2 separate regions of the Homo sapiens genome follow, and region 1 is linked to region 2. Evidence: promoter capture Hi-C in human tissues and cell types (Jung and others, 2019). All regions are on one chromosome and are shown on one strand. The core of a region is centred on a gene start or on the middle of the fragment in contact, and the rest is flanking DNA. Distances in the headings are between cores, read along the strand shown.

The links. Contacts are between HindIII fragments. The study calls those that stand out against the background at their distance.
Region 1: a contact is called between a fragment that was not itself captured here and the fragment with the promoter of ANGPTL7 in region 2, in 1 of the 25 tissues and cell types used here (H1 embryonic stem cells).

What each region holds. Positions count from the first base shown.
Region 1 is chr1:11,123,547-11,130,773 of GRCh38, forward strand. It overlaps MTOR (mechanistic target of rapamycin kinase), which reads right to left. Exons shown (of 58, transcript NM_004958.4): 39 at 6,983-7,227; 40 at 6,192-6,292; 41 at 5,309-5,405; 42 at 4,908-5,006; 43 at 4,458-4,580; 44 at 4,078-4,260; 45 at 3,464-3,598; 46 at 3,076-3,250; 47 at 952-1,087. Among named protein-coding and RNA genes, the nearest start is that of MTOR-AS1, 17 kb to the right of the region's middle. The HindIII fragment of the contact is 4,318 bases long and covers 2,512-6,829 here.
Region 2 is chr1:11,184,908-11,191,676 of GRCh38, forward strand. It overlaps ANGPTL7 (angiopoietin like 7), which reads left to right and starts at 4,448. Exons shown (of 5, transcript NM_021146.4): 1 at 4,448-5,048. The coding sequence starts at 4,673. The region is part of intron 28 of MTOR (mechanistic target of rapamycin kinase); the gene reads right to left. RefSeq lists an enhancer at 4,801-5,301. The HindIII fragment of the contact is 2,807 bases long and covers 2,456-5,262 here.

The DNA.
Region 1 (7,227 bases), core at 3,421-5,920, 61 kb before region 2:
CAGCCTCAACCAACTGGGCTAAGATGATTCTTCTGCCTCCATCTCCCAAGGAGCTGGGACAACAGGCATGAGCCACCATGCCCAGCTGATTTTTTTATTTTTTGTAGAGACAGGGTCTCACTTTTTTGTCCAGGATGGTCTTGAACTCCTGGTCTCAAGCAATCCTCCTGCTGTAGCCTTCCAAAGTGTCGGGATTACATGTGAGCCACCATGCCTGGCCACTTAATTTTTTTTTCCTTACTTTAGTTATTTATTTTTGAGATGGAGTTTCACTCTTGTTGCCCAGCCTGGAGTACAATGGTGCAATCTTGGCTCACTGCAACCTCCGCCTCCCAGGTTCAAGCAATTCTCGTGCCTCAGCCTCCTGAGTAGCCGGGATTACAGGTGGCCGCCACCACGCCCAGCTAATTTTTGTATTTTTAGTAGACACAGGGTTTCACCATGTTGGCCAGGCTGGTCTCGAACTCCTGACCTCAAGTGATCCACCTGCCTGGGCCTCCCAAAGTGCTGGGATTATAGGCATGGGCCACCGTGCCCGGTCACCTTTTTAATTTTTTTAAATAAATAGTGATGGGGTCTCTCTATGTTGTTTAGGCTGGTCTTGAATTCCTGGGCTCAAGTGATCCTCCTACCTTGGCATTACAAAATATTAGGATTATAGGTGCGAGCCACCATGCCCAGCCTTTTTCTTCTAAAGAGACAGTCTTGCTCTATTACCCAGGCTGGAGGGCAGTGGCACAATCACAGCTCACTGCAGCCTTGAACTCCTGGGCTCAAGCCATCCCCCTGCCTCAACCTCTGGAGTTTCTGGGACTACAGGCATGAGTTACCATGCCTGGCTCCCTAATTTTATAGTTTTTTGTTAAGATATAATACATGACTACACGAGACAAATGTAGGAAAAAACCAGAAGACTTCTCAAATTGTTGCCATTTCAGGGTTTCTGAATACCTGAGGTTTTTCCGAAGAGATGTTGGGTCATTGGCCAGAAGGGTGTTAACCAGGCCGAAGAGCTGCATCACACGCTCATCCTGGCGCAGATCTTCATGGCCTTTTAGAAGGAAAACAAACTCATGTCCGTTGCTGCCTGTAAGGAACAGTGGGAGCGGTGAGTGTACATCAGAGGTCCTCAGCTCTTCAGCTGAGAGCACCACTGCATTCAAGAGATCCCACAGACTACATATGCCTTACCTAATCACACGTTCCTCACAAAAAGAAAAAACAATCTTTAGAATTAATGAAAAGAGTGGCTTTGCCTTTTATGGTTCTCAATGACCAGTGTTGTTCAAATTAAAACAAAACAAAATCTGTTTTTGAGGACCAGGAACGGTTAGGCATGGAAATGATCATTCCTGTTTTCCGACCCACTCTGTCCTCCTCTGTTCTGAGAAGCCTGACTCCTACAAGCCGCATCACCTGGGATCCCACTTGGGCGTGGCCAATGGTGGAAGGGTACTGGCAGGAGGTCAGAGGATGGGTAGAGGGAGAGGTCAGGGTATGTGTCCCCCATCACCAGCCTGGCCCCAGTTCTAGAAGCTACCACTCTCTCTGGACTGTAGACTCTGCTAGATGGCCTCTCTGGCATGGTGACGGTTCTAGCTGGGCTCCTTGCTCTTTCAGTTCTGGAGTGTGGGGGTGGGTGAGGGCTGAGTAACAATTTCTCACTTGTGCTTGTTCATGAGCGCTCCTTGTTGATTCTCTTAGCTTTGCTTACACCTCTGGAAACAATTCCTTTCTTAAACTCTCTTTAATTAAACACCCCAAGAACCAGCCTGACCCACATTTTGTATCAGAAGACAACAGCTCATGCAGAGATAATCACCTGTGGACCATGATTAATTGGTGTTGGTGAATAATCACTGCATTTAAGAAACATTGAGCATTATTAAGAGCGAGAGGTGAGGCTGGGCGCGGTGGCTCACACCTGTAATCCTAACATTGTGGGAGGCCAAGCTGGGCGGATCACCTCAGGTCGGGAGTTTGAGACCAGCCTGGCCAACGTGGTGAAATCCCATCTCTACTAAAAATATAAAAATTAGCTGATTGTGTGGCATGCGCCTGTAATCTCAGCTATTAGGGAGGCTGAGGCACGAGAATCGCTTGAACTCAGGAGGTGGGGTTGCAGTGAGCCGAGAGCACACCACCTCACTCCAGCCTGGGCAACAGAGTGAGACTCTGTCTTGGGGAAAAAAAAAAAAAAAAGAGCAAGAGGTGGCTGGGCGCAGTGGTTCACACCTGTAATCCCAGCACTTTGGAAGGCTGAGACAGGCTGATCACTTGAGGTCAGAGTTCGAGACCAGCCTGGCCAACATGGTGAAACCCCAACTCTATTAAAAATACAAAAATTAGCTAGGTGTGGTGGTGCGTGCCTGTAATCCCAGCTACGCGGGAGGCTGAGACAGGAGAATTGCTTGAACCTGGGAGGTGGAGGTTGCAGTGAGCCAAGATTGCGCCATTATACTCCAGCCTGGGCAACAAGAGCAAAACTCTGGCTCAAAAAAAAAAAAAAAAAAAAAAAAAGCGAGAGGCCTCAAAGTGCCACCACAGCACTCAGGCCTCACTAAAACATCCCCCATAAGTAACACTCTACCCCAAGGGAAATTCCAGAGCCCACTTGCTTAACAAATCTCACTGTGAGAATCCACTTGTTCATTTTACACAATCATTTACCACAGAGACTATGATGGTAAAAAAAAAAAGAAAAAAATTTCAAGAGCCAGAAGCCCCCGTTTCAGAGGAGCTAGCACCTTCCCTGCTTGCACCCAGCTGCCTCCTCCCTGGCCTCATCAGTCTCCAACACCTGCCTTCCACTGTTACTTCTCTGCCTTGCATGCCTTTGTCATTCCCTTTATGTGTGATCATGCTTCACATAAGCCCAACTACATGAATGAACTAAGTCCTGAGGACATAATGAGAAATTTGCTTGCCCTCTATTTTCCTCTCAATGAGCATGGGAGAGATGTAGCTATGATAGGTGAGTAGTGGGAATGGCAAGCAGTAATTTCAGAAGAGGGAAGGGGTCTCAGCCAGTGTAGGAGGGAGAAGTGGGTGACAGAAGTGCACAATGGTCCTTACCCATAAGTGTCAATTTCCGGGGCCTCTGCTTGGATGTGATGACTTGCAAAGACGGTGCTATGGACTGAATGCGAATGATTGGCTGGTTGGGGTCATATGTTCCTGGCACAGCCAATTCAAGGTCCCGGCACATCAGAAGTTTTGGGGAAACATATTGCAGCTCTAAGGATGTGAGCTGTAAATAATTACCAAAGGATTTAGTGTTCTGCCTCCAGGGAAGAATTTAAACGCAATTTAAGTATTTTTCAGTGGATTGCTAATAACAATTACTTGTCCCAAAGCAGAAGTAAAACCAGATGCTTTGGAATGAGTGTTAGAACATTCATAGACAGTAAAACAGAAAGGACTATAATGACAGTTAACCCTGCCAGGAGCCTGAAGATCCTACCTGAGGCAGCTGCTTTGAGATTCGTCGGAACACATGATAATAGAGGTCCCAGGCTTGGGTGAGGTCCTTGACATTCCCTGATTTCATGTACTTCCTGCACCACTCTTGGGCCTCCATTAAATCTCGACCATAGGCCTGAGAGAGAAAGCAGGCACGTTTTCAAGTTATCAAAGTCTCAACCAACCCAGGAGGCAAAATCCCCAGGCTGACTGCAGATATTCCTCAGGAGCCCGCTGTGGCCTGAAAACACTGGCAGGGGGCTGGAGAAAGCAAGAGCATAGGTGCAGGCCTCCAACCCTGGAGCTTCCAAACCAGCAGCATGGCTTATAGGGAAGGAAGGGTGAGAGGAGAGACGAGATGACCTCTTGAGAAATCTTGGGCTTTTCCAGTTAAAATTCAGAAGGGTCCCTGTAACTAATTTCTGATGTTTTATGCTCTGTGACCTCCATCAGAGCTCGTTTTATTAAAGTCAGTGGAAAGGCCAGAGGAAAAGAAATCTGACAAAGGCCTTGGGTCACGTCCTTTCATTCTATAAAAACTTTTCTCATTTCATTTTTTTTTAGTGGCAGAATATTTCTACAGGGTTATGTCCTTTCGTGTTTTTTACCCCATACCTGATTAAAGGATGTTTCCTTCAGAGTCTGGGGGCCCCGTTCCATCATAGCATGCAAGGGCTCCAGCACCTCAAACATGCCTTTCACGTTCCTTTCCCCAAAGTACAAACGAGATGCCTCTTCCAGGCCTTCATGCCACATCTCATGCCAGAGGATGGCCACTCGGATCAGCTCCTCGCTCACCTGAAGCCAAGAGAAGAAGGAGAGAAGCATCAAGAATCAGCTAACCTCAGAAAGGTCTGTTTTGGAGACACAGGAGGTACTATTTCCAGCAGTCAGAGGAAGTGCACAGCACCAATGCGAGGAAGAAAAACAATCCCACTTGCGCCCACCAGCTAAGGGACCAGGGTCTATGAAGCCCCACAGTGGCTCCGACCCACCATCATGGCCTGCTGGACCAGGGTGTTGCTGTGCTCACACATGTTCTTCAGAATCTTGTTGGCTGCATTGTGCCGGGCTGTCGTGGTAGACTTAGAAGCCACTGTCAGTGGGTAGATGAGGGCCTGAGGGAAAAACAGAAGAAACATCTATAAAGGAAATGTGGGTTGGGGAAGAGCTGGTATGAATTTTAAGGAGAATAACAAAACAAGTGGTGAGTGTGACATTAACATCTGCTTGAGACTACCAGGAAGGGGCTCAGTCTTCGAGGGAACGCTTTCTTTTTAGCAAGGCTCCCGGGCCCTCTGGGACGGCTGGCTGGACAGACCCTCCTGGGCCAGGATGGAACACATGGCTCCCAGTTCCTGCGCTTGTGTCGCCAGGGCAGCTTTTGGAAAGGCTGACCACCAAACCAGTGGTTAGATGAGAAACTGCCCAGAGTCTCCACATACCTGGGGGTGGTACCGACCAATGTCTGTGAGAAGCTGGTGAATGAGACGTCCCACCAAGGGTCTGGGCGTATCAATTCTTGCAATGAGCTGAGGTATAACCTGGTATTCAAAAAGACACAGTATGTAGCATATGAGACTTGAAACAACTAGTTATTCTTCTAGGCAAAGATCAATTCTTTTAACTTGTTTCGGTTGATGCTCTGAAATGGTTCATTCCCTTCCCTTTAGTTTCTAAAAGAAAATAAAGAAAATATGGACACTTGACACTGGGACCGAGCCCTACTTCCTTAGCACTGTATTAACACACACTGCCTTGTGACACTGAACACAGCATGCTTGTAAGAGGAGACACACAGAAGAGAGACTTGGAGCCACCTTCACCTGTAACCAAGTATCCTCACCTGTAGCCAGGTATCAATCTGGATGGCTTTCACCCCCTCCACTAAGGCCTCATTGACATCTGGCCAGTGACCATAATCAAACCATAAGGTGAGAACTCTGAAAAAGAAATGAGAAAGTCACAGAAAATTTAGTTTCCCAGTTTTTGCCTGCCTGTTTTTCATCTCTAAGGCTCCTGAGAAGAGAGCTGGCAGGGACTCCAACCAGTAACTCTCAAATGTGTTTGGCCTCCCATGGGAGCAGGTGTCTGTGATGGGTGGCAGTGCTCTTGACTGAACACCGTAAGAGTCACCCTGAGCAAATGAGCATTTCATCCCAGGTCACCGAGGGGTCACCATGGCATGTATGCAAACATCAAACAGACGAGCCAGGATAACCTTTAGAAAGCCACAAGTCTGCACATGTAAGAGTCGCTGTACGGCAGAGGCAACAGGGACACCTGGCTCTTAGCTGGCTGGAGATCCTCAAATGAAGGAGGATGTGGACCTTGTCACCTTTACCCTCTGGGTTAACTGATTTGAGTCATTTGTTTAGACCTCTCCAAGTTGCTGAGGGATTTTAGAAATACTGTGACTTCAATAGGCAACAGGGTGGTCAGAAAAAAAGAAATATTGTGATTAACAGATGGGTTAATAATCCCTCCATAATAAACCACACATGGAGAGTTCTCACTCCACTTCTCCTCCTCACTCTCTGTAGGTTTCACCCACACAGGTGGGGCCCAGTCAGCTGTTACTCCTTAAATGCAGTGCAGAAAAAAGGCACATACATCGATCTTGGGTGTCCTGATCAGGGTCAGGAAGGGAAAGAGGACTTTTACGTGTGACTTCTAGGTCTTGCCATTAACATGGCCTACCAGAGTTGCATCCTTCCCTTCTCTGATACCTGAGTGTATCCTGGAGGTTGTTGCCTCGTGACAAGGAGATGGAACGGAAGAAGCCCTGGACGGCAGGCACCGTGTACATCAGGAGGGTTTTGGACAGATCCTGTTGGAACACACACGTGTTAGCGACACTCTTGCCTCTGCTTTCTCATCTGTAAAATGGGCATAAGAGCATACTAACTGTACCTACTTCAAAGGGTGGTTATAACAATTAAATCGGTTAATGCATGAAAAATCTTTAATCATTACCTGGCACATAGCAAAGACTCAATAAATGGCAACTGTATCATAACTGTTATTATCTTGGGCTGACAGTGGCTTCCTGAACAGGATGGAGGGAGGAGGTGGAGCTGAGGCTCTGAACACCCGGATCTCTGGGCCTGCCAGCGGCCCTGGCGCATTCTGAACTGACAGCCCAAGGGGAAGGGGAAGAAGTGGAAGTGGAGAGAAAAAGGCAGAGGATGGACCTCCCAAGCCCCATCCTCAGAGTGGACCCGCAGCTGTGTACAGCCACCCACACACAGGTGCAGCACGTAGAGAATGAGCTCGTCCACAGGGAAGCTTGACAAGGAGCTTGCTCTTCAGCATAGAGGCTGCGTCAGCTCCCCAAACACAAATATTCACACACAAAGCCCTATCTCAGGCAGTGCTGGATGGTAGATAGGCAGTATTTTCCAGCTCCATCTGGCACTTCAGATACAGCCTCAGGTTCCTTTTAAGCTTAACAACGATTCCATTTCTCAGAGAGCCTGGCACCTTGGTTGGTTGTTAATAAGGAAGAAGGGAAGGGTACCTCAGTGACCTTCTTCTGCAGCGGCGATGGGGTGGGGCTGTTCTCGGTGCTCTCGGCCTCGCTCTCACTGTTGCTGCCCTCGGTGCTGGCAGTGGTGGTGGCAGTGGCGGCCGTGGTGGCGGCAGTGGTGGCGTTGGTGATGTTGGCCCCGCTGGCATGACGCAGTTTCTTCTTCTCATCGCGGGCTTGGTTCTGATGTTTGTAGTGTAGCACAGCTTCGAAGTTCATCACTGCCCACGCATGCC
Region 2 (6,769 bases), core at 3,198-5,697:
CTCCAGCTTTAGCTTCTGCTGCCATTCTTCTTCCCTTTGACTCTTAGGCCACACTCGACTACTTACATTCTCCCACTAGTCCAAGTCTTTCACATAGCTGCACCTTTGCTTACAACATCCTCTCCCATTCCTGGCTATTTCCTCCTTTTTCTTTAAAACCTAGGTATCACTTCTCTAGAAGGCCCTCCTTGTCCTCTGTGTCTCCCATCCTAGCATGTCACACTGTCCAAGAGTTCAGCTGTCTAACTAGACTGCCAGACACTGGGCCAGAATAATCGCTGGATTGTGCAACTTGAGTGGAGGCTAACAGAGCTATAAAGTCCTGACAGAAATCAGAGAGACTTTTTTTTTTTTTTTACTATATTCCATAATTTAAAACTGACTCTGGCCAGGTGTGGTGGCTCATGCCTGTAATCCTAGCACTTTGAGAGGCTGAGGCTGGAGGATCACTTGAGCCCAGGAGTTCGAGACCAGCCCTGGCAACACAGTGAGACCCCCATCACTACAAAAAAAAAAAAAGAAAAGAAAGAAAGAAAGAAAGAAAAAAAGATAGTTGGGTGTGGTGGTGCATACCTGCAGTCCTAGCTACTCGGGAGGCTGAGGTGGATGGATCACTTGAGACTGGGAGGTTGAGGCTGCAATGAGCCATGGTTGCCCCATTGCACTCTAGCCTGAACAGAGTGAAACCCTGTCACAAAACAAAACAGAACAAAACAAAACAGGACTCTAAGAGAAGGCCTGAGAGAAAAGACTTCTAATAGGTTCAGGACACATTCTTTGATAGAAGTGGCAAATTAGAAAGCTCAGGGAAAAGATGGAAATATCTTCTGTGATGGACTTGGACTTTCAGTTGAGACAGGAATGGGATGGAGTGCTAGAAAGGCAGATATGTGGCCGGGCATGATGACTCACACCTGTAATCCCAGCACTTTGGGAGGCCGAGGCGGGTGGATCAACAGATCAGGAGATCGAGACCATCCTGGCTAACATGGTGAAACCCTGCCTGTACTAAAAAATACAAAAAATTAGCTGGGCATGGTGGCAGGTGCCTGTAGTCCCAGCTACTTGGGAGGCTGAGGCAGGAGAATTGGCGTGAACCCGGGAGGCAGAGCTTCCAGTGAGCCAAGATCGTGCCACTGCACTCCAGCCTGGACGACAGAGCAAGACTCCGTCTCAAAAAAAAAAAAAAAAAAAAAAAGGCAGATATTCAACGGCTGTATAGAGTATGGCAGGCTGTGGTTTTTTCAAAGACTTCAGAAGAAGTGAAATATTCCTTTGAGATACACAATTAAAACTAACAGCAAGGCAGCTTCTTCTGAGATGTATTCATTCCACAAGCTGAGAGTGGGCAGCAGTCTCTCCAACGGGGCATTTTCAAGCAAATGGGATCTGATGCTCCTCTCTGGATAGAAGGAGAGACCACCCCTAGGTGCTCCCCTGCCCTGTGACCCTCAGACTACCTTGGTGCCAGCCCAAGGCAGTGCGGCCCAAACACTGTGAAGTCTTTTGAGAACCTCCAGGTTGAGTACAACCTCACTGACTTTTTTCATTAAGAACAAAAGCTTAATTTTCATAAACACCTTTTCCAGGAGCACCAAGCTAGCCCTCTTTCAACACCAGCAAAATGGAGAAAAGGAAAATCTAAACAGTATCCAACCTAGGTTTTCCAGATTTTGTCAGTTAATTCCCATTTTTAAGGTCACTCTGCTCACTGAAAGGCAGAAGAAGGATTTAAAAGCCTCTTTCAGAGAAGGCAATACCATTTTAGTCCTCCACATCCTTCATGGTTTTCTCTACTGGCTTAGCTGTGCTCAAAACAAGGACTTCTTTTTCCTTCATTTAGATATTCAGAATCTAGGACATCATAAGGTTGTGGATGTTTTAGAAAATAGATAATCTTCTGGCATGAGAAATATCCTTAATTAGCTATTTTTCCTCAAAACTGGAGGGGGGGTGAGTATTGACATTTGGGTAGCTTATGCAATTCAAGAGCTTCTGTCTTCTGTCTTCAAGTATTGCCTTATGTTAGAAATAAGTTTCCAGAAAATAAATGTCAAAGACCAGACACTCATGCTAAAGGCTAGATGCTTCCAATACAAACTTACGAACCTCCTCCTACCTTTCCTAAAAGGGACTGTTACATGGGGTACAAATATGAATGATTAATTTATTTTCTGCCCACATATAAGAATCAATTCATAACACTTTCCTGTTTGGGTGAGCTACTGGGAAGAATAAACAAAAGCTGGCTAGAACTCCACAAAGTTCCACTGTTCTTTTGTGCTTTCTCTGCTGCACTGTTACATGAGAGTTCCAAGGCAGCAGGGTCACGTGGGATGCTATACATCAGTGGTCCCCAATCTTTTTGGCACTAGGGACTGGTTTCGTGGAAGACAATTTTTCTATGGACCAGGGTGGGGGTGGGGAGATGGGGGATGGTTTTGAGGTAAAACTGTTCCACCTCAGATCTTCAGGCAGTACTTAGATTCTCACAAGGAGCACGCAACCTAGATCCCTCACATGTGCAGTTCACAACAGGGTTCACACTCCTGTGAGGATCTAATGCTGCCACCGATCTGACAGGAGGCAGAGCTCAGGCGGTAATGCTCACTCACCTGCCACTCACCTCCTGCTGTATGGCCCTATTCCTAACAGGCCATGGACAAGTACAGGTCTGCAGCCTGGGGATTAGGGACCCCTGCTATACATGACTGTATGGTACATAGCACTTCTGTGGCATGTGGTTTAAGCTCAGTGTCATTTGATGGCCAGGAGATCCACTTGAAAATCCCTATTTTTAGCAGACCTTGTAGGATGCCAATATTTGGGGCCAGAGTCTCGTTACTAAAATGAATGCTATGGAGCTAAGGCTGTGGTGCCCAGCTGGGCTAGACATTTGCAAAAAGAGAGCAGACTGGCAGACAGTGCCAATTCTCAACAGAATCTTTTGATTAGAATGCCAAGTTGCTATAAGGGTATCAGTAACATCCTCACCCTTTAGCAGGCAAAGGAGGCTGGGTATGTGAGAAAACAAACTCTGATCCACCTGATCCTCCACTGCTTTTTGATTCTGAGAAAAAAAAAAATTGTTCAGTAACTCCAGCTGCCTGAACAGAAATTACTTTCTGAGGAGCTAGAAGCCCTGACTGGAAAAGAGCTCTGGGGGATTATGGCATGGGAGGAGAGCTGTCAGGCATCAGGCTTATGTGGGAAGGACCCACGCTGACTACAACAGTACAAGTAACTGCCTGAGTGGCTCCATAACATGGAAACAGCAATCGTATGTTCCAAAGACAGAGTTACTGTTTTAAGGACAGAGGAACCTTTGTATAGATTCTTAGTGAAAAGCTTATTTTAAGGATGTTTGCTGAAACTCCATGTTTTTCACATTTCTTTTCAAAAGAGCATTGTCCTTCATATATAGTACATGAAAAATTACAATATTCATGTTTTTTAGATACAAAGTCATATACAAATAGAGGAGGAATAATTTCAAATTGCAAACCATACCAGCAAAGAAAGAGGGAAATGAGACTCTAGATATGGATTTATTAGGTGACAGGGATTCTTTTCTCTATATTTTAATATATTTTCCAAGTTTTGAACCACGGGCTAAGGATGGGCCTGTTCTCTGTCCTGCCTAGAAACTGACAGAAGCATGGGTGACCAATCCCAGACATGCTTGGCACTGCTGAGTTTTCATCTCTGTTGTAATCTTCTGACACCTCCTTGCAAAATATCAAGTGTTATATGCTAATACTGGCCCTCTCTTTGTTGAAGGAGAAAGCATGTAAAAAGACAACTGTCCAAACCCTGTGGCTACAAAGTCTTTTTTTGGCTTCCTAAGAGATTTACTCTATTCTTCTATTTCTAGAACTTTTCTAAGTTGGAAGATTTCAAATGTGAGATAGTGTTAGATCCAGGTTGAGTAAGGATTTTATAAAATACTAAATAATGATCAGAGATGGGAATAATCAGCCTAGATAAAAGCATATTCAGCAGGATGTCAAAATATACCAGATCCTCATATAAACAGCATGGATTACATTAACAGGCCTCCCTGGGTGAGTAGCGTCTCTTTCGCCTACCTTACGCTCACCCCATGGTTATATAACCTTTTGAACGGAATTTGGAAATTCTTCTGACCCTGTCCTGCTTGCTGATAGAGTTGAGCCAGTGGCTGGCAGGGGCATAATCTAATAGGCGAAACTGGAAACACACAAATTCACAGTCCTCTTGTCTTAGCCCAGAGACTGTACAGGCAAGGAAAGAAAGACTCGCCCCATCTCCCTCCTCCCCTCCTCTGGCCTAAGTTGCCGCTGACTTCACCCAACAGGCACCTGACCCTCCCAGATGAGCTGGGAGGGGCTAAAGCCTGGTGCAGCCATGGTAGGGGTGGAGGTACAGGCAGCAAACAATATTTAAGATGCTGACTTGTGGAGCATTCGGGCTTGGAAGGAAAGCTATAGGCTACCCATTCAGCTCCCCTGTCAGAGACTCAAGCTTTGAGAAAGGCTAGCAAAGAGCAAGGAAAGAGAGAAAACAACAAAGTGGCGAGGCCCTCAGAGTGAAAGCGTAAGGTTCAGTCAGCCTGCTGCAGCTTTGCAGACCTCAGCTGGGCATCTCCAGACTCCCCTGAAGGAAGAGCCTTCCTCACCCAAACCCACAAAAGATGCTGAAAAAGCCTCTCTCAGCTGTGACCTGGCTCTGCATTTTCATCGTGGCCTTTGTCAGCCACCCAGCGTGGCTGCAGAAGCTCTCTAAGCACAAGACACCAGCACAGCCACAGCTCAAAGCGGCCAACTGCTGTGAGGAGGTGAAGGAGCTCAAGGCCCAAGTTGCCAACCTTAGCAGCCTGCTGAGTGAACTGAACAAGAAGCAGGAGAGGGACTGGGTCAGCGTGGTCATGCAGGTGATGGAGCTGGAGAGCAACAGCAAGCGCATGGAGTCGCGGCTCACAGATGCTGAGAGCAAGTACTCCGAGATGAACAACCAAATTGACATCATGCAGCTGCAGGCAGCACAGACGGTCACTCAGACCTCCGCAGGTAAGGAGACCAGTCCCCTGAGGGAGCGTGGAGTGCCTCCCCATCTACAGCACTGCTTCTACATATCCTGGTCATCAGAACCACTACTGGGGCCTCTTTTGTGGGTACACTTTCCCTTTAGTAAAGGCTTATGCAGTATTTCCTTTGACTTCTAATGCTATGTAAGTTTACCTAACACCTTCACGGGTCTCTTTTATCCACACAGTGTTTCAGCCTACCATCTTGGAGTGCTGAGATACTACATGGTTTGCCCAAAGTCACCCAGCAAGTCTTAGAAGCAGGGTTCAAGTCTTCCTGATTGGTGTAGCTCTGCTACTTCCTCACCAAGAGCTGACAGGCTATATCTCAAGAAATTCCAAGGAAGCACCAAACTGTAACAGCTGTTCCTCTGGAAGCAAAGTTTTGCCAGAAACAGTTCTCTGGTGTTCCTAAGATTTACCAGGAATGAGCATTAATGGAATTTTGTGTCCTCTCTCTGTAAACGTAACTCTTCTCATTGGCTCAGAGTTAAGTGTAGAGACACATAACCATGTGAAGAGTCCCTTTGTGTTCAGGAAGGATGCGGCTCCTTAAGGTTCCTCAATTGTGATACGTCTATTTTTTTCCATGGTCTTAAATGAATTTCTCCGAATACAGGATTTTTTAAATGCAATGCTGAAATATAGACTTAATAGGCCAAAAATAAGATAAATTTAATCTTTCTTTTGCAAAATAACTTTTATTTCTGGTTAGCTCAGCTCAGGTGGGCCAACATGAATTTACGGTTTAGAGATAAAAATTTGGTTTTCTGAAATTATCAGGAAAATATTAGTTGTAAGGAGCATATCCTATAGACATGTCATTTCTTGCTGATATAAAAACCATTGGTCCCATTATAAACTACATGAAGAACAAAGACATGATCAGCTTCTACTGACTAAGTCAATGGTTAACCTCAGCTCAAATTAAGAAAAAGTTTTAACATGAAACCAAGCTTGAAAATTCTGTTACCTGAACCAACATGTATCAATCACTTTCTAAGCATGGACTTCCGGGCCCTCAGTTTGGGATTAGAAAGGTATTCTCAGGCCATTTTCCAGACAAGTGAGTCCTGATTTGGTCTGTGAGATGAAACCAGACATGCGGAAGACCAGGCCAGACAGAGGAATCTGACCGTGCCACTTCCTGCTCATCCAAACAGGAGGCTTTCTCACCATCCTGCAAGGAGGTTCTTGGGGTCAAGTGCAGCTCTCCCACCAGGTCTCTTGCTCTTCTTGCCCAGGACATCATTCCTTATTTTTCTTCTCTATGACCAAGTGCTCAGTTACCCTTATATTCTATAAGTAGGTAGTCCCTTAGAGGAAGCAGTAAGTTGGTGCTTTCACCACTAAGACGAAATGAAGAATAGTGATGGCGAAGGCACACGTACTCTACCTCCCTTTCCCAAGGTGCTCTGCAAGAGAACCTATGTGCCTCAGACAACTCCCATCTGCCATCTTGGTGCTCCTCTCTAAGGTCCCAGTGCAGTGGTCACCAAGAAAAGCACCCCGAGACATAGCAGGCAGGAAGCTTCTCTTGGATAGTAAGGGCCGCAGTCTCTGAATCCTATCAGAAAAGGCTGTCTCTTCCACTATGCTCTTTGATATTTAGAATACAGAGCTTAAATCCTGCATAAAGTAGCAGCTCCATGGCCCTAGAGTAAAAAAACTGGCCAGTCTGATGCTCTCATTTCATTGTTTTAA